7 separate regions of the Homo sapiens genome follow, and all the other regions are linked to region 3. Evidence: promoter capture Hi-C in human tissues and cell types (Jung and others, 2019). All regions are on one chromosome and are shown on one strand. The core of a region is centred on a gene start or on the middle of the fragment in contact, and the rest is flanking DNA. Distances in the headings are between cores, read along the strand shown. Region 1 has its middle 8.5 kb from the start of TMEM270. Region 2 has its middle 6.5 kb from the start of METTL27. Region 3 holds the start of LAT2 (linker for activation of T cells family member 2). Region 4 overlaps GTF2IRD1 (GTF2I repeat domain containing 1). Region 5 overlaps GTF2IRD1 (GTF2I repeat domain containing 1). Region 6 overlaps GTF2I (general transcription factor IIi). Region 7 overlaps GTF2IRD1 (GTF2I repeat domain containing 1).

Region 1 (3,669 bases), core at 1,165-3,664, 340 kb after region 3:
GGGGAAATGCCTTCCTCTCCCTAACCCACACAGACACTCTCAGACACACACAATTAAGTAATCTGGACAGCCCTGGCCAACCAGTGGGAGGAGGTGCTGCATTCACTGTGGAGGAGAATTATCAGGGGACACAGTCCTGCCCCAGGTGGATCTCAAAGAATCCAGCCTTCCCTGGGGGCCCCACCCCTCAGCCTCCTCCTGCTCAACCCAGGAAGTGCAAGAGCCCTGCTAGGTGGAGGACTTGGGGCTGACCGCTAACCCCCCAATCCCAGGCACTTTTGGGATCTCAAGCCCCCAACCCCAAGCCAAGGTGGGTCAAAGGCGAAGAGGGGTGAAAGAAGAGAAGGCACTACCACTGCTAAGCAAGCGCTGGATGGAGGGGGCTGGAGAAAGCCTCCCGAGGGATCCCAGACACGACGGCTTCCCAGGTGCCCGGCCATCCTCACCCATCTAGCACAGATATGGGGGGCAGCTGGGGAAGCCCAGAGACCCCTGCATTAGCCCCCAGCATGGTCCTGAGACCCTGCAGCCTCCCCCTCCTGCCACCCAGAGGGCCTCCATCCTAGATAATAACCCCAAGTCTCCCAGCAGCCCCCTTCTCAATACCAACAGCTGCCCAAGGTCAGCTGCCTCTCCCCAGCACCCTCCATCAGCCCCTAGAAGTGCAGCCGAGAGTCCGGGCGCGGTGGCTCATGCCTGTAATCCCAGCAGTTTGGGAGGCTGAGATGGGCGGGTCACCTGAGGTCAGGAGTCCGAGACCAGCCTGGCCAACATGGCGAAACCCCGTCTCTACTAAAAATACAAAAATTAGCCGGGCATGGTGGCGGGGCACCTGTAATCCTAGCTACTCAAGAGGCTGAGGCAGGAGAATTGCTTGGACCCAGGAGGTGGAGGTTGCAGTGAGCTGAGATCGTGCCCCTGCACTCCAGCCTGGGGGACAGAGCAAGACTGTCTCCAAAACAAAACAAAAAAAGAAGTGCAGCTGAGAAGGCAAGGACCGAGGCACAGGGCAGGACTTCAGGAAAGCCCCTTGTCCTCTAAGTTTCAGTCCCACGACTGTCCAGCGGCCCCAGCTCTGGACTCTGAGACAGGAAGTCATCGTGGCCACAGCGGCCACTGGTCAAGGTCAATGATCAAGTCCACCTGACCATAGGGCAGCCTAGCAGGGGAGGGGCGAACAGGCACAGCTACTCTTGGGGCCATCGGGCATCTTGCCAGCTCCTTCTCACCCTGTCGGGGCAAAGCAGCTCAGGAGAGAGACAACAGGACCGGCACAGTCTGGCCTGGGTGGGGAGGCTGGCTGGGGGAGCTGGATTGAAGCGAGAAGCGCTAATAGGTTATGTCAGGCGAGCGCTCTGGGGAAGGGGCCGCGCCTCTCAGCTCTGGCAGCCCCACCTGGGGCCTGAGCCCAAGAGCTGGGGCCTGGAGAGAGACGCTGGCTCAGTGCTGAACCCAGTGTGCAGACCGGGGAGCAGGAAGGCAGGACAGAAGTGAGCCCCCATCCCCCACTGGGCCTGGGGCAGCAGGGGGGCTGGTGATAGACACACAGACCCCTCTGGTGGGCTAGGCAGGTCCCAAGTGACAGAGGCCACCCATGCTTACATGATGGGACTGGGCTTGGTGGAGAGCGAAGCCCCAGGGGGTGGGACCACCCCTCTGCTCAGGGGAACCCTCTTATTATGTATCCCCTCATTTCCTTTTCTGTCCAGTCCCCCCATCCTGGGCGCCAGGATCCCATCCCCAAACCCTCCCGACCCTGATCTCTCCCCGAAACTCCCGCTGCTCTGCGTGGACTTCACCAGCCCCTCCCCCATCCTTCAGTGCGCACTTTGACAGCCCCTAACACCGCAGCCTTTCCTGGGGTTGGGATGAGGTCAGGATGAACCGGGGGACAGGGAGAGGCCTGCAAATGAACCCCTCGCCCGGGAATGTGGGTTCCAGGGCTCCGGGAGGTGGAGAGGGTCTCAAAACAAGAGGCGGGGGGGTCAGGGAAGGGCCAGGAACTCGGGCCGGGGCCTGCGGGCAGACTGAGGAGGGGGGCCCTTACAATCACAACGGGGCAGCCAGGGCCCTGTGTGTCTTGGCGAAGTGGGACCCCTGGCCCGCCAGGTATGTAACAATTCCAGCCATTTCCTGCCCTATTAATGAAAAAGGGACTGATATAAATACACGCTCAGCATAAATAAATACAGGCCAGGCCCAGGACTGCATAGCAGACAGATTGCGTGAAGCTGCTGGCTGGCCTTGCAGCCAGCTCCCCCCACCCTGCCCATGCCCCGTCCACCCCCTGACACCGGCCACCAGTTGTTTTCTTCCAGCAGGCCAGGGCCCCTCCATGCTCACAGGCCTGAGACAGACGGACTGACTGCTCCCACCCCGGGCCTCAGAAGCTGCAGCCCCCAGAAAGGCAGCAGGCCTGGGAGATGGGGAGCCAGGGAGTGGGGTCCCAAGAGCCTCCCATGCCTGCTCTGAGCGGGGACCGCACGTGCACAGACCAGGCAACAGCCCTGTGACATCTGGGGTGTTGTGATTATACCCTGATCACAGGAGGGGAAACTGAGGCTCTCAGGGTTTAGTAAATTGCCAAAGGTTACACAGCTGAGAGGTTGTGGATCCAGCATCCAAACCCAAGGCTCTCTGACCCCAAGGCCTCTGCTGTGCCCACCATTGTGAGTGGCAGCCGAGGGGAGATTCTGGCCTTCTCCCTTTCCCCCAGGATGCCAGAGACCTTGGAAGGCCGGAAGAATTCAAGTCCTAGAAGAGATCTTGCAAAAGCAGCAATAACTCCAGGACAGGGGATTCAGGGAGCCAGAAGTCAGCCAGTGTAGGGCCTTATTGGCAGGCTGCGTAGACAGGGGGACTGCTCCTCTCCTGCCCCACCCCACCTCTTACCTGGGCACTGAGGAACAAGGCCTGGCATCAAGGAACCCCAAATGCTGACTCTCGGCCAGCCGCAGTGGCTCACACCTGTAATCCCAGCACTTTGGGAGGCCAAGGTGGGCAGTTCGTCTGAGGTCAGGAGTTTGAGACCAGCCTGGCCAATATGGTGAAACCCCGTCTCTACTAAAAATACAAAAATTAGCCAGACATGGTGGCGCTCGCCTGTAGTCCCAGCTACTCGAGAGATGAGGCACAAGAATTGTTTGAACCTGGGAGGTGGAGGCTGCAGTGAGCGGAGATCATGCCACCGCACTCCAGCCTGAGTGACAGCGAAACCCTGTCTCAAAAAAACAAAAACCAAACCAAATGCTGACTCCCTTATCGGGGATCACCCCACCCATCCCGCATTGCACAGACATGGGAACCGAAGTCCAGAGTGGGCAAAGAGAGCCTCATCCAAGGTCACACCCAGTGACCTAGGCGGGCAGAGGCAGAGGCAGAGGCACAGAATCCAAGCTTCTGTCCCCAAGCCCAGATCTTCTCCACGGGGCTTGGGCCACATTCCTGTCCATCCCCACTTTGGCCCCAAACTGCTCTGGGGCCTCCTCCTTTCCTCCAGTCCCTGCCTCAGCAAAGAGCTGACATCACCTACTCCTGCACTCATGCTTCCCTGAAAGCTGTGTGTATGTTCTAGAATCCCAGTCATGTTACCCCTCTGACCAGGTGCTTATAGGTCCTTCCTGGTACATGTTCTACCTCGTTGGCCAGATGGGACCCCTCAGATGTCCC
Region 2 (3,958 bases), core at 879-3,378, 360 kb after region 3:
GGGGAGCTGTATCAGCTGGGTGTGTCAGCTTGAGGCTTGAGGGATGACTAAGCGGTGGTGAAAACGAACCCAGTCCGCAAGCATCAACACAGAAAGAGCTCATAAATGGCTGGGCATGGGGGCTCATGCTGGTCATCCCAGCACTTTGGGAGGCCAAGGCGGGCAGACCACTTGAAGTCAGGAGTTTAAGACCAGCTGGGTAACTTGGTGAAATCCCATCTCCACTAAAAAGACAAAAAATTAGCCGGGCCTGGTGGTGCATGCCTGTAGTCCCAGCTGCTCGGGAGGCTGAGGCAGGAGAATCGCTTGAACCCAGGAGGCGGAGGTTGTAGTGAGCCGAGATCGCGCCTCTTCACTCCAGCCTGGGCGACAGAGCAAGACTCCATCTCAAAAAAAAAAAAAAGCCACTGAAGCAGAGTTGAAGGAAGAGTGGGGCAACATGGCAAAACCCCACCTCTACGAAAAATACAAAAAAAAATTAGCTGGGTGTGGTGGTGCACGTCTGTAGTCCCAGCTGCTCGGGAGGCTGAGGTGAGGGGATTTTCCCGGCTGGAAAATAGTGCAAAGGCCCTGTGATAGCCTTGGCACAGTCCAGGAACAGCAGAGGCCAGAGTGGCGGATCAAGGAAAAGAGACGCTACAGATAAGGAGAGGAAAGAAGCTGGATTTTAGGTTTTAAGCAGGGGCGTAAACTCATCAGATGGATACTGTAAAAACGCCACTCTGGCTGGGCTCAGTTTGTTAACTATTGAAACGCTCATGAAGAAATACATGGGGAGTTATTACACTAGTCTCTTCTTTTGTGTGTGTTTGAGATTTTCTTCTTCTTTTTTTTCTTTTAGTTTTTTCAGACAGAGTCTTGCTGTGTTGCCCAGGCTGAAGTGCAATGGCGTGATCTTGGCTCACTGCAACCTCTGCCTCCCCGGTTCAAGTGATTCTCCTGCCTCAGCCTCCCAAGTAGGTGGGATTACAGGCATGCACCACCATCCCTGGATAATTTTTGTACTTTTAGTAGAGACAGGGTTTTGCCATGTTGGCCAGGCTGGTCTTGAACTCCTGATCTCAAGTGATCCACCCACCTTGGCCTCCCAAAGTACTGGGATTACAGGTGTGAGCCACCGCACCTGGCTGGTGTAGTTTGAGTCCACAGGATTTGCTGATGAACAGGGTGCGAGATGGGAGAAAAACAGCTTGAGCTGAGCCCCTGAGTGCAAGGTGGTTCAGGGGCATTTGCAGAGACGGGCCCTGAAGAGGAGCAGATTTGGGAGTGGAAAGAATCACTCTCGGGTCTGGGCTCGTTGCCAGACCTGTGGCCTCCAAGGAGATGTCAGTTTCATGGCTGGGTGAACAAGTCCAGAGTTCAGGGGAGAGCCAAGACTAGAAGTCATCAATTTGGGAGTCACCCACAAATAAACAGTATTTAAAACCACGGGACTAGATGAGATCACCTAGGAAGTGGGTGTACACAGAGAAGGAAGAAGACCCAGGACAGAGCCGGGGGCCTCTCCTAAGCTTAGAGGTAGGAGAAGAGCAAGGAGGAGGCGGTGAAGAAGATGAGGTAGGAAGAAAACTCCAAGGAAGGGAAGTTGCCATCTGGTCCTCAACAGCCCCCACACCCCATCAGCACCAAGGTCACCCCCTCCTCAGCAGCCCCTGACTCTTGACACTCCAGCTCTTGCCAAGTAACTGCAACAGCCTCGGAACTTGCGGTTCACCCAGCTGGCTCTCCCTGCCGCCTTCTGGAGCCATCTTGGTAAAATGCAAATCTGAAGCCACAACTCCCCATTACACATTCAGGGTTAGAAAGCACGTCCATAGACCAGGCGTGGTGGCTCATGCCTGTAATCCCAGCACTTTGGGAGGCCGAGGCAGGCAGATCACCTGAGGTCAAGAGTTTGAGACCAGCCTGGCCAGCGTGGCAAAACCCCATCCCTACTAAAAATACAAAAAAAATTAGCTGGGCGTGGTGGCACATGCCTGTAGTCCCAGCTACTTGGGAGGCTGAGGCAGGAGAATTGCTTGAACCCAGAAGGCAGAGGTTGCAGTGAGCCAAGATTGCACCACTACACTCCAGCCTGGGCAACAGAGTGAGACTCCATCAAGAAAGGAAGGAAGGAAGAAAGGAAGGAAGAAAGGGAGGGAGGGAGGGAAAGGAAAGGAAAGGAAAGGAAAGGAAAGGAAAGAAAGAAAGAAAGAAAGAAAGAAAGAAAGAAAGAAAGAAAGAAAGAAAGAAAGAAGGAAGGAAGGAAAGAAAAGAAAGAAAGAAAAAGAAAAGAAGGAAGGAAGGAAGGAAGGGAGGGAGTCCATAGCCTGGGGACCAAGCTCTCCATGGCCTGGGTCCTGCACACATCAAAATGGACACCTGTAACATTCCCCGCTCATCACACAGGTGCACATGAAGGAACACACGCCCTCACACCCCAGGAGCAGCACAGGAGCCCGCACTGTGGCAGGCCAGGTCTCCCCAACAACTGTTTCAGTACTGACTGAGTGGTTAATTTAAATATTAAAAGCCAGTGCCCTTATACAAAGGCTGGGATGTAACAAAAGCCCACCAAGAGTTTTGCCCAGGCCTTTCCTGGGCCTTAAATCACGACAAAATAATGAAGGAATTCTTAACAGGACCATTTAGAATTAAGCAAGTTTTATTTTGGGTCTGAAGAAACTCCCCAGGCCTCCACAAACAAATTTATTGGCGGTCTGAAGGAACTCCTCAAACCTCCATGATTTAGCAGGAGATAACAGGAATCACCCCAGCACCTGGACCCATTTAGATAAGTAAATTTACTGAGGTTCCAGAGGAAGAGCTTCGGGACTCAGACCTTAGTCATGGATTAAAAGAAATTAATCACTTATGTCTTCAGATGAATGCACACTTACACATAGACGTATAGCTTAGAAGGTGTATAAGCTCTGGAAAACTTTGTAACTTTGAGTTAGTCGGGTGATAATTTCCACGCCTTCTCCCTGTAAACGGTTACAGAAATAAAAACTCTCTTCCTCCCCAGTTTGTGTGCATCTCGTTATTGGGCCACAAGAAGTAGCAGCCCGACCCTCAGTTTGGTCTGGGAACAGTACCACAAGCCATTCTCCCCTCCCTCCTTCCTGGATGGAAAGCTCACACCCCACACCTGAGCCTCAAAGTGCCAGATCACAGTTTCCCAGCTTCTGTGGCTTCTGGAAATACCCTCCTCCCATAGAAAGAAAGAGAAAGGCCAGGTAGGTTCCTCACACATGTAATCCCAGCATTTTGAATGCCAAGGAGGGAGGATGGCTTGAGCCCAGGAATTGGAGACCAGCCTAGGCAACATAGCAAGACCCCATCTCTACAATTTTTTTTTTTTAATTAACCAGGCTTGGTGGCAAGCACCTGGAGTCCCAGCTACCCAGGAGGCTGAGGCAGAAGGATTGCTTGAGCCCAGGACGTAGAGGCTGCAGTGAGCTAGGATTGTATCACTGCACTCCAGCCTGAAAACAGAGCAAGACCCCTCTCAAAAAAATAAAATTAAAATTAAAAATATAAAGGACAAAAGGGAGAGAGGGAGGGAGGAAGGGAGGGAGGGAGGGAGGGAAGGAGAAACAAGGAAAAGCTCCTGCCATTCCTAGCCTACTTTGGGCTTTGTTTTGTTTGTATTTTTTTCTTTGAGATGGACTCGCTCTGTTGCTAGGCTGGAGTGCAATGGCGCAATCCTGGCTCACTGCAACTTCCGCCTCCCAGGTTCAAGCAATTCTCCTGCCTCAGTCTCCCGAGTAGCTGGGACTACAGGTGCCCGCCAGCATGCCCAGCTAATTTTTGTATTTTTAATAGAGACAGGTTTTCGCCATGTTGGCCAGGCTGGTCTCGAACTCCTGACTTCAAGCGATCCACCCACTTCGGCCTCCCAAAGTGCTAGGATTACAGGCATGAGCCACCACACCTGGCCTGCCTTGGGCTTTGAATGTAAGGATGCAAGGAATGT
Region 3 (4,181 bases), core at 103-2,602:
TTGCAGTGAGCCGAGATCACGCCACTGCACTCCAGCCTGGACAACAGAGTGAGACTCCGTTTAAAAAAATTCTGTGCTCTCTCTCTGTCTCTGTCTCCCTTTGTGTCTCTGTCTCGCTCTCACTTTCACTCTCCCATCCAGGTTCTGAAAGCAGGTGGGCTGAGGTGGAGGGAGCGGAGGGTGGACCCTCTGAGGCCCCCAGGGGCCGGCAGGGCTGGGCGGGGTGGGGAGTGGGGGCTGCCACAGACCACGGTTCTGCAGAGGCCAAAATAGCACTAAAGGGAAGTGGGCAGTTTTCATATGAACAACGATTGCCAAGAGCTGGCTTCGGGGAAGTTCTCGGGGCTGGGCTGGAGGAGCTACAGTGTCTGAATCCCGCCTGGAAGGACGCTCGAGACCACCCTGCCGGTTCTCCCAGCCTTCTCCGAGCTGAGCTGTGGTTGGGGACACTGGGGTTGGGGAGGGGGCAGCCTGGCTTGAAGCCCTGGATGGCTTTATCCACTGGACTCTGCTCTGGGGTCTGTTGGTTTTTTCATTTAGTTTTTAATTATATTTTTTTATTTTTATTTTTTAAAGAGATGGGAGTCTCACTATGTTGCTCAGGCTGGTCTCCAGCTCCTGACTTCAAATGATCCTCCCGCCTTGGCCTCCCCAAATGCTGGGATTACAGGTTGAGCCACCGTGCCCGGCTGGTCCTGTTGCTTTTTCCAAATAACTCTGGGCTTCAAATGAGCCTAGCTGGGAGGGAGAGAGGGAGGCGGGCGGGTGCAGGAGGGGCCTGAGCAGCCCTGGTCCCAGGGACAGAGTTGAGGGCCAGGTAGGGGGCTGGGCAGGGAGGCAGTGGGGGTTCTTCACCTGACCTGGGGCAAGACCTGGGCCCTGGCCTGTAATCCCACCGTTTTCCCCTGACCTGTGTAGGGGGTTACAGTCCCATTTCACGGATGAGGAAACCGAGGCTCCCAGGCCAGGGCAGCCACTGTTTTGGCTCTCGGCCACTTACTTCACCAGTCTCTGGCAATGATGGGACCACCCTGGGATGTCCCAAGGCTACACAGGCTGGACAGGGGAAGGCGAGGGCAAGAGAGTGGCCAGAAGCCCAGAAACAAACTGACCCCTGAAGTGCCACAGAGCCTGGTGCCAGGGTGAGAGTGGGGCTGCGGGAGGGGGCGCCAGGCATCCAGGCCTCTTCCCACCCCACCCAGTGGGGCCAGGAGCTCCTGGGGGATGGGGGACAGCCTGAGGACTGAGGCACCCCTGGGAAAGGCTTACCTGAGAGTCCAGGGTTCCTCACCACGGCCGCCCCATCCTGAGCCCGCACACCTGCCCAAGCTGATGCCAACACCACTGACACTGGCGGGCGGGCAGGGCGGGCTTCCTGCCAGCCACTGAATCATCCGTACATCCGCCGCACTGCCGGACAGGCTCAGCTATGAAGAGGGCGGTGGGGGGAAGGGAGGGGAGACGGGGGAAGGAGGCGGGAGAGAGAGAGAGAAGAGAAACAAAGTGAGAGGGAGAAAGAGAAGAAAGAGAGATAGGACCGGGCGAGGTGGCTCACACCTGTAATCCAAAAACTTTGGGAGGCCGAGGCGGGTGGATCACGTAAGGTCAAGAGTTTAAGACCAGCCTGGCCAACATGGTGAAACCCCGTCTCTATTAAAAATACAAAATTAGCTGGGCATGGTGGCATGTGTCTGTAATTCCAGCTACTCGGGAGGCTGAGGCAGGAGAATCGTTTGAACCTCAGAAGCAGAGGTTGCAGTGAGCCGAGATCGCACCACTGCACTCCAGCCTGGGTGACAGAGGGAGACTCCGTCTCAAAAAACAGAAAGAAAAAGAGAGAGACACAGCAGAGAGACACAAGAGAACAGGAAAATATGGACACACACTAAACACACACATAAACACAAAAAGTCACACAGAGAGGAAGAGAGATACACTCCAATAGACAGGGAGCAAGATAATGAAACTGAGGTGCTCCTGCAGATGGCAGATATGGAGACACACATACGCTAAAAAGACACACACAGGCAGAAATTCACACCCATGGGCCGGGCGCGGTGGCTCATGCCTGTAATCCCAGCACTTTGGGAGGCCAAGGCAGGCAGGTCATGAAGTCAGGGGTTCAAAACCAGCCTGACCAACATGGTGAAACCCCATATCTACCAAAAATACAAAAATTATCTGGGTGTGGTGGCGGGTGCCTGTAATCCCAGCTACTCGGGAGGCTGAGGCAGGAGAATTGCTTGAACCCAGGAGGTGGAGGTTGCAGTGAGCCAAGATAGCGCCACTGCACTCCAGCCTGGGTGACAGAGCAAGACTTCATCTCAAAAAAAAAAAAAAAAAGAAGAAGACACACACAGGCAGAAATTCATACCCATGGGCCAGGCACGGTGGCTCATGCCTGTAATCCCAACACTTTGGGAGGCTGAAGCAGGAGAATCACCTGAGGTCTGGAGTTCAAGACCAGCCTGGCCAACATGGTGAAACCCCATCTCTACAAAAAATTTAAAAATTAGCTGGGCATGAGATGGACCAAGACACACACAGAGAGACACACAGAAAGATACAGAGAGCCACAGACTGTCAGAGACACACACAGATGGGGAGAGAGCAAGAAACAGGGAGATAGAGGCCAGGTGCAGTGGCTTGCACCTGCAATCCTAACATTTTTGGAGGCTGAGGCAGGAGGATCGCTTGAGAACAGGAATTTGAGACCAGCCTGGACAACAGAACGAGACCCCATCTCTAAAAAAATTTTTTTAATTAGCTGGGTGTGGTGGCACACACCTGTAGTCCCAGTGTTTTGGGAGGCCAAAACGGGAGGATTTCTTGAGCCCAAGAGTTGGAGGCTGCAGTGAGCCGTGACTCTGCCACTGCACTCCAGCCTGGGGGACAGCAAGACCCTGTCTGTCTGTAAAAACAATAAATAGGCCGGGCGTGGTGGCTCACATCTGTAATCCCAGCACTTTGGGAGGCCAAGGCAGGTGGATCACCTTATTTAGGTCGGGAGTTTGAGACCAGCCTGGCCAAAATGGTGAAACCCCATCTCTACTAAAAATACAAAAATTTGCCGGGTGTGATGGTGGGTGCCTGTAATCCCAGCTACTTGGGAGGCTGAGGCAGGAGAATCACTTGAGCCCAGAAGGCGGAGTTTGCAGTGAGCCAAGATCGTGCCACTGCACTACAGCCTGGACAACAGAGCGAGACTCCATCTCAAAAAAACAAAACAAAAACAAAAAAACCCAAAAAACACAACAAAAAAATTTAAAATAATAATAATTATTATTTAATTAATAGCTCAATGGCCTTGGGCAGCTGTTTAATGGTCAATAGCACAAGGCAGTCCACCCACTTGTGGGATGTGGCTTTATTGACCTCAGGTGCCAGAGCATCCTGGCCTCCACAGGGAACTATCTCACTCGGTCCTCATGTCTGTGTGGATGGCAGCCACGGTGTCCACCCCAGGGCTGGGCACAGGAGCACCGCTGGGCAGGAGTGGGCTGTGGTCCCTCTGCCTGTGCTATGAGCCGTTCTCTGCACCCCGATGCCAGGAGCCTCATCTGTGCAGTGGGGTGATGAGACCCCCAAGGCTGGGGTGGAGCAGGGCTCTCCTTCCTTCTCCCACCCTTTAGCGCCCTCGCTGTCTGCAGCCTCTGACACTCGTGCCGTCCACTCCTCCACCTGTCTTTGGTCACTTGTTCCATCTGCCCTGCCCTCGTGGCCTCTGCAGGGGTCTCTCTGTCCCTGCCCTGCCCACCTACATCCCGCATCCTTTGTCTCTGTGTCCATCTGTCTCATCCTCTGGGACTCTTGCTGTCTGACCCTCTGTCTCTATTCCTCGCCTGCTTTTTTTTTTTTTTTTTGAGACAGGGTCTCACTCGGTCCAGAGGTGAAGCTGAATTTGAACCCAGACCCCAAAGCCTGGCTTCCTCACTGGGACCCCCTGACTGGCTCCTCCTCACACAATGGGAACAAGCCTGCAACAGTTTCCCTTCAGCCCCAGACTGTGCACCTGGATAGAGGTTACCTGCTGTTCTTTCCCCTTTTTTAAAATTTTTTTTGAGATGGGGTCTCACCCGGTCACTCAGGCTGGAGTGCAGTGGTGCAATCTCAGCTCACTGCAACCTCTGCCTCCCAGGCTCAAACGATCCTCCCACCTCAGCCTCCAGAGTTAGCTGGAA
Region 4 (3,647 bases), core at 164-2,663, 380 kb before region 3:
ATGGGGTTTTGCCATATTGGCCAGGGTGGTCTCAAACTCCTGAGCTCAGGTGATCTGCCTGCCTCGGTCTCCCAAAGTGCTGGGATTACAGGCGTGAGCCACTGTGCCCAGCCTGACTCCTGTTTTTTGAGACAGGGTCTCACCCTGTTTCCCAGGTTGGAGTACAGTGGTGCCATCATAGCTCACTGCAGCCTTGAACTCTTTGGCTCAAGCAATCCTCCCCACTCAGCCTCTCAAGTAGCTGGGGCTCCAGGCATGAATCACCATGCCAGACTAAGTTTTTTTAAAATTTTTTGTAGAGAGAGTCTCTCTCTGTTGCACAGGCTGTTCTCGAACTCCTAAGCTCAAGCGATCCTCCTGTCCGCAGCCTCCGAAAGTGCTGGGATTACAGTTGTGAGCCACTGTGTCTGGCTCTTTTAATCTTGAAAACTCTGGGAAGAGCTCACTTCTGTTTAGGAGGCTGCCTTGGGAACTGCATCTCCTGGCGTGGTGCTCTGTGCTGCTTAGAGTCTGCTGACCCCGTCTGGGTGGCTTGGCCTCCCGTGCGCAAGCTGCCAGAATGGAGGCCCTGTTCCCCATGTGGGGGTTGCCCCAAAGAGCAGGGAGCTTCCCACAGGACAGAGGCTGGGCACCTGCTTGGCCTGGTTCCTCCTTTTCCCAGGGCTCCAACACCCACCACCTCAGGTCCTCCCAAACCCTGCAGGTCCCTGGCCTGGTCCGTCCACACCCACACTCAGCAATCTCTGCACATCTCTGAGTTGCTGATCTGTCTTCAGGCACGGCCCGCCAGCCCCCCTGCGTGCCCAGAGACACTGCAAACATCAGCCATTCCAGACAACGTCCTCCTCCCGTGTCCCTATCTCGTGGAGTAATGCCTCTAATTCAGCCACACAAAGACCCCACGCTCCACATCCCCTAGAACCCTCGTCTTCTCCTGTGACCCAACACGGGCCTTCCTTTCAGGACTAGGATGTGGGAAGAATCAAGGCCACCCTTGTCCAAATCCATGCAGACAACAGTGATGGAGTCCTGGGCCCAAGGACCAGCTCCTAGAGCCTGCAGGGAAGCAACAGCACATTCCATCTGTCCCCATGCCACTGAGGAATCTTTGGTGGCAGGATTCTCAGCAGGCATGGCCATGCATGCACAGAACAGAGAAAGGATGGCCTGGATCACACACATCACTGTGTGCAGATGCTTTCCTAGACACTGCAGCCAAAGACACAGAGGCTCAGAGAGGTAAAGAAACTTGCCCAAGGTCACACAGCCTCTAAGCACCAGGAGTACTCTGTGTCAACCCCAAAGCCCTGGTCTTTCCACTCTACCATGAGCCCTGGGTTTCCTGAGGTCTCAGATTCCTCTACAGTTTCTTTCTTTTTCTTTTTTTTTTTGGAAGAGTCTTGCTCTGTCACCCAGGCTGGACTGGAGTGCAGTGGTGCGATCTTGGCTCACTGCAACCTCTGCCTGCTGGGTTCAAGTGATTCTCCTGCCTCAGCCTCTCGAGTATCTGGGATTACAGGCACCCACCATCACACCTGGCTGATTTTTGTATTTTTAGTAGAGATGGGGTTTCACCATGTTACTCAGGCTGGTCTCCAACTCCTGGCCTCAGGTGATTCGCCCACCTCGGCCTCCCAAAGTGCTGGGATTACAGACGTGAACCACCATGCCCAGGCTCCCCTACAGTAGCTGTAGAAAGAAGGCTTAATCTTTAAGATAGTTTCCTCTAATCTGTTGCTCTCAGCCCACAATGCCACACCTCTGTCTTCTCCTGTGTCGGGACAGAGCGAGACTCAAAGTCAGAGCTCTACGAAACCTGCAGGACAGAAAGAAGCTTAGCAGGCCTCTCAAAGACGAGGCCCAGACCGGGCACGGTGACTCACGCCTATAATCCCAGCACTCTCAGAGGCCGAGGCAGGTGGATCACTTGAGGTCAGGAGTTCCAGACCAGCCTGGCCAACATGGTGAAACCCCGTCTCTACTAAAAATACAAAAAATTAGCTGGGCGTGGTGGTGCATGCCTGTAATCCCAGTTACTCAGGAGGCTGAAGCAGGAGAATCCCTTGAACTGGGAGGTGGAGGTTGCAGTGAGCTGAGATTGCGCCACTGCACTCCAGCCTAGGCGACAGAGCAAGACTCCGTCTCAAAAAAAAAAAAAAAAAAAACACCAAACAGGCTGGGCGCGGTGGCTCACATCTGTAATCCCAGCACTTTGGGAGGCCGAGGTGGGTGGATCACCTGAGCTCAGAAGTTCGAGACCAGCCTGTCCAACGTGGTGAAACCCCGTCTCAACTAAAAGTACAAAATTTAGCCAGGCGTGGTGGCAGGTGCCTGTAATCCCAGCTACTCCGGGGGCGGAGGCAGGAGAATCGCTTAAACCTGGGAGGCGGAGGTTACAGAGAGCCAAGATCGCGCCATCGTACTCCAGCCTGGGGGACAAGAGCGAGACTTCATCTCAAAACAACAACAACACACAAAAAACCCAAACAAACAAAAAACATGGGACCCCAAACTTACTATGCCAAAGGGAAATGTTAAGCTTGGGAACTGAGTCACGCAATAGCCTTTTGTTCCTAAACAGATGGCTGCAAGATAGAAGGCCACCTAGCTCCCCTGGTGGCCTCCCTCACCCTGGCCATGTAAATTCACAGCTTATCTTCACAGGCAGGGGACAAAGATAAGAATAGAAATCATTGCTCTGTCTACCCAAGACAAATGCCTATATGACTTCCTCTACTCTATTTACTTTATCTTATGTAAAAGGCAGATTTACTGAGCACAGGATAAATACATCATTAACTATTCCTCTTCCCCCTTTATTTTTTTATTTTTCGAGACAGAGTCTCCCTGTTTTCCAGGCTGGAGTGCAGTGGCATGATTTTGGCTCACTGCAACCTCCGCCTACCGGGTTCGAGTGATTCTCGTGCCTCAGCCTCCAGAGTAGCTGGGATTACAGGTACCCGCCACCACACCTGGCTAATTTTTTGTATTTTTAGTAGAGATGGGGTTTTGTTATGCTGCCCAGGCCAGTCTCGAACTCCTGACCTCAGGTGATCCACCTGGCTTGGCCTCCCAAAGTGCTGTGAGCCACCGTACCCAGGCCCTCTTTCCCCTTTAAATACCAAAGTCCTCAAAACTCTGGAAAAAAGCACAGGCCACAGACCCTATTGCAGCTTGAGTCTCTTTTTCCTGGCTGTGTCCTCCCCCATGGCAAAATAAATCTTTAAATTGATTGAGACCTGTTTCAGGCACTTTTGGTTTACATGGCCCACGGGGGTCTATAGCAGGGATCCTGACCCAGCTGGGAGTCAGGGAGGACTTCCCAGAGGAGGTGACCACCACACGGGGCCCAAAGCTCCAAGGATGTGGGCTCATCTGCACGCTGGGGCTCATCACACGGACCTCCAAGGCAGTTGTGAGCGGTGAGTAAGACACAAGGAAACTTGTAGTATCCTGTGATTTCAGGTGCTCAACATGCTTTAGCCAATCAGGAAACTTCCCCTCTTCCTTCCAAGTCTTGCCTGGTCTGGGAAGAAGTGCAACCCTAAACCAGGCTGCAGCTAACCAGGAGTGACACTACGGGGCAGTCGATAGGATACTATGGCAATTCTATATGGGGCACAGGTCCCAGGCGGTGGACCAGAAGT
Region 5 (3,717 bases), core at 718-3,217, 300 kb before region 3:
AAGCGATTCTCCTGCCTCAGCCTCCCGAGTAGCTGGGACTACAGGCGCCCGCCACCACGCCTTGCTAATTTTTGTATTATAAGTAGAGATGGGGTTTCACCATGTTGGCCAGGCTGGTCTCAAACTCCTGACCTCAGGTGATCTGCCCGTCTCAGCCTCCCAAAGTGCTGGGATTACAGGCGTGAGCCACTCTGCGTGGCCAGTTTCCACGTCTATAGAATTGGGGACAAGCAGCCCAGTTCCACAGTGCCACTGGGCTTGGGTATGGGGATTCAATGGTTGGAGGAAAAAGATCTCTAAACTGGGACACCCTATATGGGTATACAGGCAGCTGGCTATCCTCATGGCCCCAGAGTCGAGGTCTGCAGCCCCATAGCCCAGAGGCCTTAATGTAGGGGGTCCCTACAACCAAGACCACCAGCATCTCAGGTCTCTGACCTACCCCACCAGGAAAACCCTGACTGTGAAGCCTGTGGCAGGCAGTTGTGTCTAATAAATGCTGGTTTTCATCTGAGTCAGGTAGTGCTGGCAGCTATAAAGTCTGGCTTCCAAACGCAGTTCTGTGCTGCGTGGCCTGGGACAGGTAACCTCTCTGGGCCATAATCTTGCCTATTGTGCCAGCCCCAGCCTGGAGTCGCTCTGGTTAGGAAGGTGCACGCGGCGTGGGGCCAGGAAGCCTGTCCTCCAGGGTCCCTACTGGAAAATTAAAACACAGGGCATTCATTTTCTTCTAAGATGAAAACAAAAGCTTGCTGTTCCCTTTCTGCGCGGGAACACTGTAGACTATTAACAAAAAATAAAACAAATAAATCCAGCTGTTTCTCATCCATCACAGCTGAAAGAGCTGCTTCATCCCACAGTCACCGCTCAGCTGAAGACGCCGAGACCATGGCAGAAAACTCACCCACCTAAAGGCACCCAGAGCTGGTGGGGAAGAGGATGAGATTGGGGGCGGGTGACGAAGGCACATCCCTTCAGCCCACCCTCCCTACAGGTCACCAAAAGACCCTAGCATTTGGAGGAGGCTGGACTTAAGTTACTGCTAAGCAAATATCATTGTCACCCATAGGGTCCCTCAGGAAACCCTTAAAAGGCCCAGGGACGGGGGAGCCTGTCTTGTTCGCACTGCTAGGATAACTATAGGGTCATGTGCTCCTCCAAGGAGGCTCTGAAACACTCACTAGACCACTGCTGCCAAGTAGAACTTTTTTTTTTTTTTTTTGAGACAAAGTCTTGCTCTGTCACCTAGGCTGGAGTGCAGTGGCACGACCTCGGCTCACTGTAACCTCTGCCTCCCAGGCTCAGGCGATTCTCCTGCCTCGGCCTCCCGAATAGCTAGGACCACAGGCATGCATCACCATGCCTGGCTAATTTTTGTATTTTCAGTAGAGATGGAGTTTCACCATGTTGGCCAGGCTGGTCTCAAACTCCTGGCCTCAAGTGATCTGCCCCACTCAGCCTCTCAGGGTGCTGGGATTATATGCGTGAGCCATTGCGCCTGGCCAACCCAGTGTAACTTTCTATGACTATGAAAACATTCTACCTCTGCACTGTCCAATCCATAGACACCAGCCACTTCTGACTACTGAGCACGTAAAATGAGGCTGGTGCAACTGAACAACTGAGTTGTTTATTTCGTTTTAACGAATTCGAATTTAAATGAATCAGGGGCAGTGGCTCACACCTGTAATCCCAGCACTTTGGGAGGCTGAGGCAGGTGGATCACCTGAGGTCAGGAGTTTGAGACCAGCCTGGCCAACATGGTGAAACCCCGTCTCTACTAAAAATACAAAAAAATTAGCCAGGTGTGGTGGCGCACACCTGTAATCCCAGCTACTCCAGAGGCTGAGGCAGGAGAATCACTTGAGCCCAGGAGGCGGAGGTTGCAGTGAGCCAAGATCGCGCCATTGCACTCCAGCCTGGGTGACAGAGCAAAACCCTATCTCCAAAAAAAAAAAAAAAAATTGCAAATAGCCACATGTCACTAGTGGCCATGGCATCGCCCATCACTGCCCACATCAGCCACACCTCCATCAATGCCAAGCTCACAGTACTTTGGGACACAGGGCTGAGCTCCTGGGGCCCCCTCCTCATGAAAGTCACTCTGCATAGGGGAGGGGTCATCATGGAGAGAGTGTGGCACCCAGCCCCTTTTCCAGGGGTGTCTCCCACCGCTGCCCCAAACACCACTTAAGCAGCCCTTGAGCCACCTACAGCAGGAACAGCTTGAAGGAGGTCCTTTATTTTTCGGGGAGACTTTGTACCCAGAAGTTCGCTCTAAAAACTGGTCTTGCTGGGCCAGGCGCAGTGGCTCACGCCTGTAATCCCAGCACTTTGAGAGGCTGAGGTGGGCGGATCACGAGGTCAAGAGATTGTGACCATCCTGGCCAACATGGTGAAACCCGGTCTCTACTAAAAGTACAAAAATTATCTGGCCACGTGTGGTGGTGGGGGCCTGTAGTCCCAGCTACTGGGGAGGCTGAGGCAGGAGAATTGCTTGAACCTGGGAGGCGGAGGTTGCAGTGAGTCGAGATCACACCACTGCACTCCAGCCTGGCGACAGAGCGAAACTCCGTCTCAAAAACAAAACAAAACAAAACAAAACAAAACTGGTCATGCTGTGTGACTTTGGGCAAGGTACTACCCTCTCTGTGCTTCATCATCCTAAAATGCAGGAGCGCAGCTAACTGATGTTAGACAGATTTTTAATTTTATTTTTATTTAAAAAAATTTTTTTAATTGAGAGAGTCTCCTCTGTTGCCCAGGCTGAAGTGCAGTGGCACGATCTCGGTTCGCTGCAACCTCTGCCTCCCAGGTTCAAGCAATTCTCCTGCCTCATCCTCCTGAGTAGGCAGGATTACAGGAATGTGCCACCATGCCAGTCTAATTTTTTTATTTTTATTTATTTTTTTTTGAGACGGAGTCCCCCTCTGTTGCCCAGGCGGGAGTGCAGTGGTGCTATCTCTTCTCACTGCAACCTCCACTTCCAGGGTTCAAGTGATTCTCCTGCCTCAGCCTCCCGAGTAGCTGGGATTACAGGCATGTGCCACCAGGCCCAGCTAATTTTTATATTTTTACTAGAGATGGGATTTTGCCATGTTGGCCAGGCTGGTCTCGAACTCCTGACCCCAAATGATCCACCCGCCTCGGCCCCTAAAAGTGCTGGGATTACTTGCGTGAGCCACCGTGCTGGGCCAGATTTTTTTTTTTAACACTTCCATCACAGAACTTCCCCCCAGGAAAAGGCTAGAGGAAAATGGTATTATGATGTCCTCATTTGGGATAAATTGTTATAGGTCTAGGTATGTAGGCAATAGCGCCAGGGGAGTGATGTATTATACAAAGCTCGGTTTCTCTCTTCCTGCCCGAGATGCAGTTAGAACTCTTGCTTTAACGTTGGGGATTACATCTTTCTAGTGAATGGCTCCCCACACATTATCCCCCAGGTCACCTGCTAGGAGATAGGCATGTGGTTCATCCCAGGGACAAAGTGGGAATGGCAAGAGGGGTGAAGGGACAAGGGGACGAGGGCGGAGAGCCAGTGTTTATTCCAGGGCTAGATTTTTTTTTTTTTTTTTTTAAGACGGAGTCTTGCCCTGTCACCCAGGCTGGAGTACAATGGCACGACCTCGGCTCACTGCAACCTCCACCTCCCAGGTTCAAGCAATTCTCCTGCCTCAGCCTCCCAAGTAGCTGGGATTACAGGCGCATGCCACC
Region 6 (4,153 bases), core at 280-2,779, 510 kb before region 3:
GCACTCCCATGACAGCTAGACCTGAAACAAGTCTGATAAGGTTTTCTCTGCACACATTAGAGATAACATACCTGACGGCAATTCACCTTAACCCAGAAATGTAGTCACGGTGTTTACGAAAACTGAGGCATGCGGTCCTATTAGTCCAAGGCCGATTTCCCAAACCTAAGTCACGTATGTTTTAAATGTTTACCACCGACTCCAAGTACAAATAAAACGCCACAAATGGAAGTGCACAGCTCAGAGCGCACCGGCAGTGGGTAAGTAATGACCCTGTATCCACAAACACGTCCGCGTCGGTGTCAAATTAGCCACTTCAGAACTCCACATAATTGCAAATGAAGATATCGAGGTGAAAACACTGTGAAAAATCGGACAGACTTATTTGATAACAAAGTTCTGTTTTTTTTTCTACCAATGATTTGGGAAATGTGAAAAGATATAAAAGGAGAAAATTAAGTCGTCTCCAAGCAAGCAGGAATATCTCAGTTTATTTTTGTCCGTCTTCCTACCAAGCATGAGTATTTTCCAAAACAAAACTAAGATTATCCTCTAGATGCACTTTTGCTTTTCAAGTTGCCTTGTTCTCAAGGCAGGATTTTTTTTTTTTCCACTGAACATTTTATATTAGAGATCTTTTTTCAGATTATTGGAAAACATTATCAGGATTTCAATGGCTATATATTTTTCTGTTATGAAGATATACCAAAATTTTATTTCCTAACTACGGGTATCTAAATAGCTCCTACCATTTGGAAGTAATCTTTCCAGAAAGAATATATGATACACATTATTAACCAGAGGTGTGCATGTAAGTTCTCACTTGACCTTCCTTGTTAATATTGAGACAGTTTTTTATCTTCTTAAAAAAATGAGGAATTTAATTGTTGATGTAATTTCTATATAATATACATATTTTTTATATATAATACATAAAATGTGTGTGTGTATATGCACATATGACATGGAAAATGCTACCTTTTAAAAGGATTACTTTACTCAGACCTGGTATTTCACTGGTCTTCTGAAAAGAAAGAGGTCTACTAGCAAAATTCTACTACTTAATCACAAATGTGAACATTAAATCAGGCTTATGGCACAATGTCTTAGTTTAAAAGAAATGAATGGCCAGGTGCGGTGGCTCATGCCTGTAATCCCAGCACTTTGGGAAGCCGAGGTGGGCAGATCACCTGAGGTCAGGAGTTCGAGACCAGCCTGACCAAGATGGAGAAACCCTGTCTCTATTAAAAATACAAAATTAGCCGAGCATGGCGGCGCATGCCTGTAATCCCAGCTACTCAGGAGGCTGAGGCAGGAGAATCGCTTGAACCTGCGAGGCGGAGGTTGCGGTGAGCCGAGATAGCGCCAATGCACTCCAGCCTAGGCAACAAGAGTGAAACTCCATCTCAAAAACAAATAAATAAATAAATAAACAAATAAATGAAAAGAAAAGAGATTTATTACTCCATCCAAAACAGTTAAAGTTCAAAAGGCTGACATAAGCTTCAGGTTCATGAGCCATTTATTTCTGGATTTTCGTAACCTTTCTTTAAAAGTCTTATACTATAAAAGCAAGTATTTACATTCTAAACCATTTTAATACAGCCTCTACAGGAGAATGGCGTGAACCAGGAAGGCAGAGCTTGCAGTGAGCCGAGATCGCACCACTGCACTCCAGCCTGGGCGACAGAGCCAGACTCTGTCTCAAAAAAAAAAAAAAAAAAATACAGCTTCTATCTGCTTTAAGATTTGACAAATCAAAATGGTTATTAGTCCTACCCTAAAAGCTTTATTTTTATAATTTTAATAACCTCCTATTAATATCTCCATAGAAAGGGCACAGCTGAGTAGTTGTAATATTTGTATGTTCTTAAGTTTTTTTCCTGTTAATGAGGTTTCTCACTAAAAACGAATTAAATTTCAACCATTTAATGCTGGACTGTAAACAATGCAAAATGTTTTAGATTAGAAAAATTATATTTATGAAAAAAGAAATCTGTATATTAAGTTAACACATGAAGTATGAAAAGATTTCTTGTATTAAGTGGAAGCTACTAATTGACTTATATTTTAGAAGCAATGAAGACAGACACGTTGAGTAGTTTGGAGTAGTCAAACACTAGAAATAACCAAGTGACATCAGTAGGTGACAGGTTATTAAGAGAGAAAGAGAGACAGACAGCAAACCAAGAAAGGTTACGCAGCAGCTAGAAAAAAAAACTAATAAAGTACCAAGATGTGCAGTTATGGGAGGGGGAGGCCTATGGAATATGTAATATTTTAAAATGTGCATTGTAATGTATGCTGAAAGCATCTGTGTATTTTCGCATCAAGATATGTACTGCAATTATTTCTCTAAGTAGACACAATAAGCTGGCATACATCCCTCAGTATTGGGACTTGGGAGCAGAGTGAGGGTGAAGAAAACTTTCCACTGTACAATTTACTGTACCATTTTCACATTTTACCACAAGAAAGAAGTACTTTCAGGGGAAGAAACTTACACAAGTATTGTGACACATTAATTTTAATTTTAATTTTTTTTTTGAGATGGAGTTTCACTCTGTCGCCCAGGCTGTAGTGCAATGGCGTGAACTCAGCACACTACAACCTCTGCCTCCAGGGTTCAAGCGATTCTCCTGCCTCAGCCTCCCAAGTGGCTGGGATTACAGGCATGCACCACCACACCCAGCTAGTTTTGTATTTTTAGTAGAGATGGGCGTTTCACCATGCTGGTCAGGCTGGTCTTGAGCTCCCGACCTCAGGTGATCTGCCTACCTTGGCCTCCCAAAGTGCTGGGATTACAGGTGTGAGCCACCGTGCCCAGCTGTGAGACATTAATTTAAAAGGAAAAACGCAATGCTCATTTAATAACTATTAATATGAAGTGATAGTTAATAATTCTATTAGCTGAATTTTCAAATAATTCAGGATAAACTGGCTCAGCTGAGTTCAAGCTTATCTTTGGAGAAAAAAACAGGTTTGAAGCAATCTTAGCTATAGAGAGTATTGTAGAATATATTTGTAGCTATTGCTTCAAAACAGTTTTGAAAGATAAATTGTATGTCAGCCTCTAAGTAGTATTTGCGGGTCGTTGAAGGGGGCAGGGACTTGCTTTAAAAATTACTCACTAAACTATCAACACTTTCTCCTCCACTTTACTTAATTAGAAATTAGGGATTCCAGCTCCAAATAAGTCTTCTTCTATCACAACCCAATAGATTATAGAATCTGTTTTTGTGTGTATCAAGTCTGGTCATAATTTTCTTTTTCTCTTTTCAACTCCCACTGATAGCAAGGATAGCTTGGGCCACCCGTGGGCCAATGCTAATTCTCACGGCCTCATTCTGTCATCTAAAACTCCCAAAGCACTGGGGAGTGGGCTGCTTTGGCCACACAGACACATGTATTCGTCCCACAAGTCTCCTTTAAAAATGAATGAAATGCATATTTAGCAATGTGAATGTGACAAGTATTTTTATGACCAGAAGTAAACTTTGGAATCAAGGCTTTTAGATAACTAACCTTCAATAGTCACCTCAACTTCAGGGTCCTCACTTGTTTCTGAAGGGACATGTTGAGTAGAATCTTGAAAAAAATAAAATTCTAAAATGACATTCATTATTAAGCATGTTTCCATATGTTCCAACATTTTACTGATTTGATACTCCAAAAGCAGCCTACTATAAAAATCCACTGGCATTTTCATTCATTTCATATTAATGAAATTAAAATTTGACCCTTGTCATTATAAATAGGGATAAAAGAAAACAAAAATTAGAAAAACTCTGGAAAAATTTAGATGATAACATGTTACCTGCAGAAATTGACTCAAAAAAATCCCATAGTCTTGGAGGAATGAGGATATGACAAAGTCACAATGAATTTCCTGCCACAGCTAGAAGATGCTCGGATAGAAACAAATGCTTTCTACTTTGGTTAGAATTTCTTCTCTCCTTTCAGAAATGTGAGGAGTGGTTTCTACTGTTCAATAAAACCACAACCCAGGCTTTACAATGGAGACTTTCCTATCAAGAGACTGAGTGTCACAAGTGCACACAAGACTATATCCTCTGGCTTTGTATGCAACATATTTCAAAAATTACAAAGTTCATTCATATTTGTTCCTACACAAGACAAATGTACATCAGAG
Region 7 (3,850 bases), core at 441-2,940, 360 kb before region 3:
AACCTGTTGCTTAGCACCTCCGTCTACTCTCAGGCATTAGGACTGACCTCCCAGCAGAGGCTGGTGCAACCAATCACCCCCTTCAGTAAGTTTCTCCCTGGGCTTCACCTGCGGACTTTCCACCTCTCTCTCCTTTTTTTTTTCTTTTTTATTTTTGAGACAGGGTCTCGCTGTGTCGCCGGGTTGGAGTGCTGTGGTGCAATCTCAGTTCACTGCAACCTCTGCCTCCCGGGTTCAAGCGATTCTCCTGCCTCAGGCTCCCAAGTAGCTGGGATTACAGGCATGCGCCACCATGCCCAGCGAATTTTTGTATTTTTAGTAGAGACGGGGTTTCACCATGCTGGCCAGGATGGTCTTGATCTCCTGACCTTGTGATCCGCCTGCCTCAGCCTCCCAAAGTGCTAGGATTACAGGCGTGAGCCACTGCGCCTGGCCCTCCATACATTTTTGTTGTACAAATAAATGAACTCAAAGGATTAACTACAAGCCTAAAGGTTTACACAGGCAGGACCAGTGTAATAGCTGCTGGTAGCCAGGAGGGGACAGCAAAGAGCCACCCTGTGTGGATGAGACCAGAGGGGTGGTGGGAAAGAGGGCGTGGCTGCAACCCACTTCAGGGACACACAACAAGCCCTAGGCTAGTGGTAGAGCCTGCCCTGGGTTCCGAAGTATAATAAAATGGTAAAGACTTAGGTTCAAATCTCTACCACACTACTGTGTGACCTTGAGAAAGCTGCTTAATCTCTCTGAGCCTCAGTCCCCTCCAATAAGGCCAGCTACTTGGGGAGATGACGTGGTAACGTGAGTGGGCTTTGTAACCGGCAAATCGTAAGTATGACGTGGTCAGGCATGGTGGCTCACACCTGTAATCCCAGCAGTTTGGGAAGCCGAGGCGGGTGGATCGCCTGAGGTCAGGAGTTCGAGACCAGCCTGGCCAACATGGCAAAACCCCGTCTCTACTAAAATAGGAAAATTAGCCTGGCATGGTGGCGGGCACCTGTAATCCCAGCTACTTGGGAGGCTGAGGCAGGAAAATTGCTTGAACTCGGGAGGCGGAGGTTACGGTGAGTTGAGATCACACGACTGCAGTCCAGCCTGGGGGACAGAGCGAGACTCCGTCTCAAAAAAAAGTGTGACGTGAGTGTTAGGTGTCTGTGGTGTGAGGGGCTGCTCAAATGTCCATAACTGGGGGACAGGGTAGTTACATAACCATGATACAGCCTGAAGAGGGAACAGAGCTTTTTAAAGACATGGGAACATGTTTATGTTTTAAGGTTAAATGTGTAAATTTATAGAAAGAAGAACAGTGAGATGTAAAATTAATAAGCTTGGGGGGAAATCTGGAAGAAATGTATCATCATAAAAATGAACAGCCATCTGGGTTGTTAGATTTCTGTATTTTCCAAATTTCTACCATGGGCATATATTTGCATTTCTCTTTAGGGTGTGTGTGTGTGTGTGTGTGTGTGTGTGTGTTTGTGTGTCTTTTAGAGAGAGGGTCTTACTCTGTCACTCAGGTTGAAGTGAGGTGATGTGAGCTTTGTGATCATAGCTCGCTGCAGCCTCAAACTCCTGGGCTCAAGTGACCCTCCTGCCTCAGCCTCCTGGGTAGCTAGGACTACAGGCAAGCGCCACCACCCACCACCATGCCCAGCTAATTAAAAAAAATTTTTTTTGTAGAGATGGGTTCTCACTATGCTGCCCAGGCTGATCTCCAACTCCTGGCTTCAAGCAATCCTCCTGCACTGGCCTCCCAAAGCGCTGGGATTATAGGCATGAGCCACCATGCCCGACCCCCTTTAGGTTTTTATGACCTACTAGAATGTTCTTCGGATGGAATATTACAGCAGCTACCTGGGTAGAGGGTTTCTCCCGCCTTAGTCACCACCGCTTCTTCCCAGCATATCCTGAACAGCCCCCGTTAGCTGTCCTGGGTTTTCTTTTTTCTTTCTTTTTTTGTGACCGGGTTGTGCTCTGTTGCCCAAGCTGGAGTGCAATGGCGCGATCTTGGCTCACTGCAACCTCTGCCTCCCAGGTTCAAGTGATTCTCCTGCCTTAGCCTCCTAAGTAGCTGGGATTACAGGAGTGCACCACCATGCCTGGCTAATTTTTGTATTTTTAGTAGAGTTGGGGTTTCACCATGTTGCCCAGGCTGGTCTCGAACTCCTGACTTTACGTGATCCACCCACCTTGGCCTCCCAAAGTGCTGGGATTACAGGCATGAGCCACCGCGCCTGGCAGTCTCCCTAATTTAATTCAGTGCCGCTGCAGGCAGGTGGGTGTGGCCTGGTTGGGCAGTATAGAGCTACCAGCTACCAATGGCGTTCAGCCCCCAGGGTCGAGCGTGGGTTGTCTCAGCCCCTTGCGGGCAGGGCTGGAGTTCCTTCTGGTATGAGTTGGGGGACCCAGTCCCCCCCATCCCTCTGCAACCCGAGGCCCCCCACCAGGTCCCCTCCAGTTCAGTCTGGTGCTTTCTAGTACCCCTGGCCCCCAGAAACCCCTGGCCCACAGCTCCCTTGACCTGAGGCCTGAAATTCACCCACTGCCCTCTGAGGCTTGGTCCAAGTCCAAGTATGCCTTCCTCTCAAGCTAGACGCCTGCCCGCCACTCAGCATGTCAGAGCAGGCAGGGCCTCTAGATTTTAGTGGGGAAACTGAGGCACTGAAGGCAAACGTGATGTCCTCAGCTGGGAAAATATTAAAGACATTCTGGGCTTATCTCTCTCTCTCTCTCTTTTTTAGAGACAAGACCTCGCTCTGTCACACACACTGGAATTATGGCTCCCTGCAGCCTCCAACTCCTAGGCTCGAGGGATCCTCCCGCCTCAGCCTCCCGAGTAGCTGGGAATACAGTCGTTCGTCCCCACCATGTCTGGCTAATTTAAAAAAATGTCTTTGCAGGATGGGATCTTGCTATGTTACCCAGGCTGGTCTCAAACTCCTGGGCTCAAGTGATTTTCCCATCTTGGCCTCCCAAAATGCTGGGATTATAGGTATAAGCCACCACGTCTGGCCTGAGTCATCTCTTTTGACCCAGAACAAAACCAGTCCAGGAGTGGCTGTACTCTCACCCTACACTGGGGAGGCTCACAGCTCTAGGGTGCAGTGGGGCTCTTGCAATTTAATGACTGATTCATCTTCAAAAAAGCACAATCTCAGCCAGGTGCGGTGGCTCACGCCTGTAATCCCAACACTCTGGGAGGCTGAGGCGGGCTGATCACCTGAGGTCAGAAGTTTGAGATCAGCCTGGCCAACATGGTGAAACCCCGTCTCTACTCAAAATACAAAAATTAGCCGAGTGTCATGGTGCACACCTGTAATTCCAGCTACTCAGGAGGCTGAGGCAGGCGAATCGCTTGAACTCGGGAGGTGGAGGTTGCAGTGAGCCAAGATTGTGCCATTGCACTCCAGCCTGGGCAACAAGAAGAGAAACTCCATCTTAAAACAAAAAAACAAAACAAAACAAAAACAAAAAAGCACAATCTCTTTCAGAATTTTTACCTTCTCGGGGTGGTTCTGTTAGGAAAGGCTTCCATGGGAACCTTCAATAAGTGACCTAAAAAAATCTCAGAGCCATTCTTTTTATTTTTATTTTTTCCAGATGGCGTCATGCTCTGTCACCCAGGCTGGAGTGCAGTTGCACAATCTCAGCTCACTGCAACCTCCACCTCCTGGGCTCAAGCCATCCTCCTGCTTCGGCCTCCTGAGTAGCTGAGACTACAGGTGCGTGCCACCGTGCCTGGCTAATTTTTAATTTTTTTGTAGAGACGGGGTCTTGTTATGTTGCCCAGGCTGGCCTCAAACTCTTGGCCTCAAGTGATCCTCCTACCTTGGCCTCCCAAAGTGCTAGG

What was found. Contacts are between HindIII fragments. The study calls those that stand out against the background at their distance.
Region 1: a fragment that was not itself captured here is called in contact with the fragment with the promoter of LAT2 in region 3 in 1 of the 25 tissues and cell types used here (dorsolateral prefrontal cortex).
Region 2: a contact is called between a fragment that was not itself captured here and the fragment with the promoter of LAT2 in region 3, in 3 of the 25 tissues and cell types used here (aorta, lymphoblastoid cells and spleen).
Region 4: a contact is called between a fragment that was not itself captured here and the fragment with the promoter of LAT2 in region 3, in 2 of the 25 tissues and cell types used here (dorsolateral prefrontal cortex and lymphoblastoid cells).
Region 5: a contact is called between a fragment that was not itself captured here and the fragment with the promoter of LAT2 in region 3, in 1 of the 25 tissues and cell types used here (lymphoblastoid cells).
Region 6: a contact is called between a fragment that was not itself captured here and the fragment with the promoter of LAT2 in region 3, in 3 of the 25 tissues and cell types used here (dorsolateral prefrontal cortex, hippocampus and lymphoblastoid cells).
Region 7: a contact is called between a fragment that was not itself captured here and the fragment with the promoter of LAT2 in region 3, in 1 of the 25 tissues and cell types used here (mesenchymal stem cells).

What each region holds. Positions count from the first base shown.
Region 1 is chr7:73,867,805-73,871,473 of GRCh38, reverse strand. No RefSeq gene overlaps it. Among named protein-coding and RNA genes, the nearest start is that of TMEM270, 8.5 kb to the right of the region's middle. RefSeq lists enhancers at 1-101, 574-1,503. The HindIII fragment of the contact is 3,681 bases long and covers 574-3,669 here.
Region 2 is chr7:73,847,000-73,850,957 of GRCh38, reverse strand. No RefSeq gene overlaps it. Among named protein-coding and RNA genes, the nearest start is that of METTL27, 6.5 kb to the right of the region's middle. The HindIII fragment of the contact is 7,829 bases long and covers 1-3,958 here.
Region 3 is chr7:74,207,177-74,211,357 of GRCh38, reverse strand. LAT2 (linker for activation of T cells family member 2) reads right to left here and starts at 1,352. Exons shown (of 14, transcript NM_032464.3): 1 at 1,270-1,352. RefSeq lists silencers at 229-318, 1,429-1,478 and enhancers at 419-538, 1,759-1,868. The HindIII fragment of the contact is 33,709 bases long and covers 1-4,181 here.
Region 4 is chr7:74,583,629-74,587,275 of GRCh38, reverse strand. The region is part of intron 22 of GTF2IRD1 (GTF2I repeat domain containing 1); the gene reads right to left. Among named protein-coding and RNA genes, the nearest start is that of MIR10525, 11 kb to the left of the region's middle. RefSeq lists an enhancer at 1-76. The HindIII fragment of the contact is 6,527 bases long and covers 1-3,647 here.
Region 5 is chr7:74,508,554-74,512,270 of GRCh38, reverse strand. All of the region lies in intron 2 of GTF2IRD1 (GTF2I repeat domain containing 1), which reads right to left. Among named protein-coding and RNA genes, the nearest start is that of WBSCR23, 22 kb to the left of the region's middle. The HindIII fragment of the contact is 5,923 bases long and covers 1-3,717 here.
Region 6 is chr7:74,718,314-74,722,466 of GRCh38, reverse strand. GTF2I (general transcription factor IIi) reads right to left here. Exons shown (of 35, transcript NM_032999.4): 12 at 3,526-3,588. All of the region lies in intron 2 of GTF2I-AS1 (GTF2I antisense RNA 1), which reads left to right. Among named protein-coding and RNA genes, the nearest start is that of GTF2I-AS1, 8.5 kb to the left of the region's middle. The HindIII fragment of the contact is 4,068 bases long and covers 1-3,563 here.
Region 7 is chr7:74,563,633-74,567,482 of GRCh38, reverse strand. The region is part of intron 22 of GTF2IRD1 (GTF2I repeat domain containing 1); the gene reads right to left. Among named protein-coding and RNA genes, the nearest start is that of MIR10525, 30 kb to the left of the region's middle. The HindIII fragment of the contact is 5,280 bases long and covers 1-3,850 here.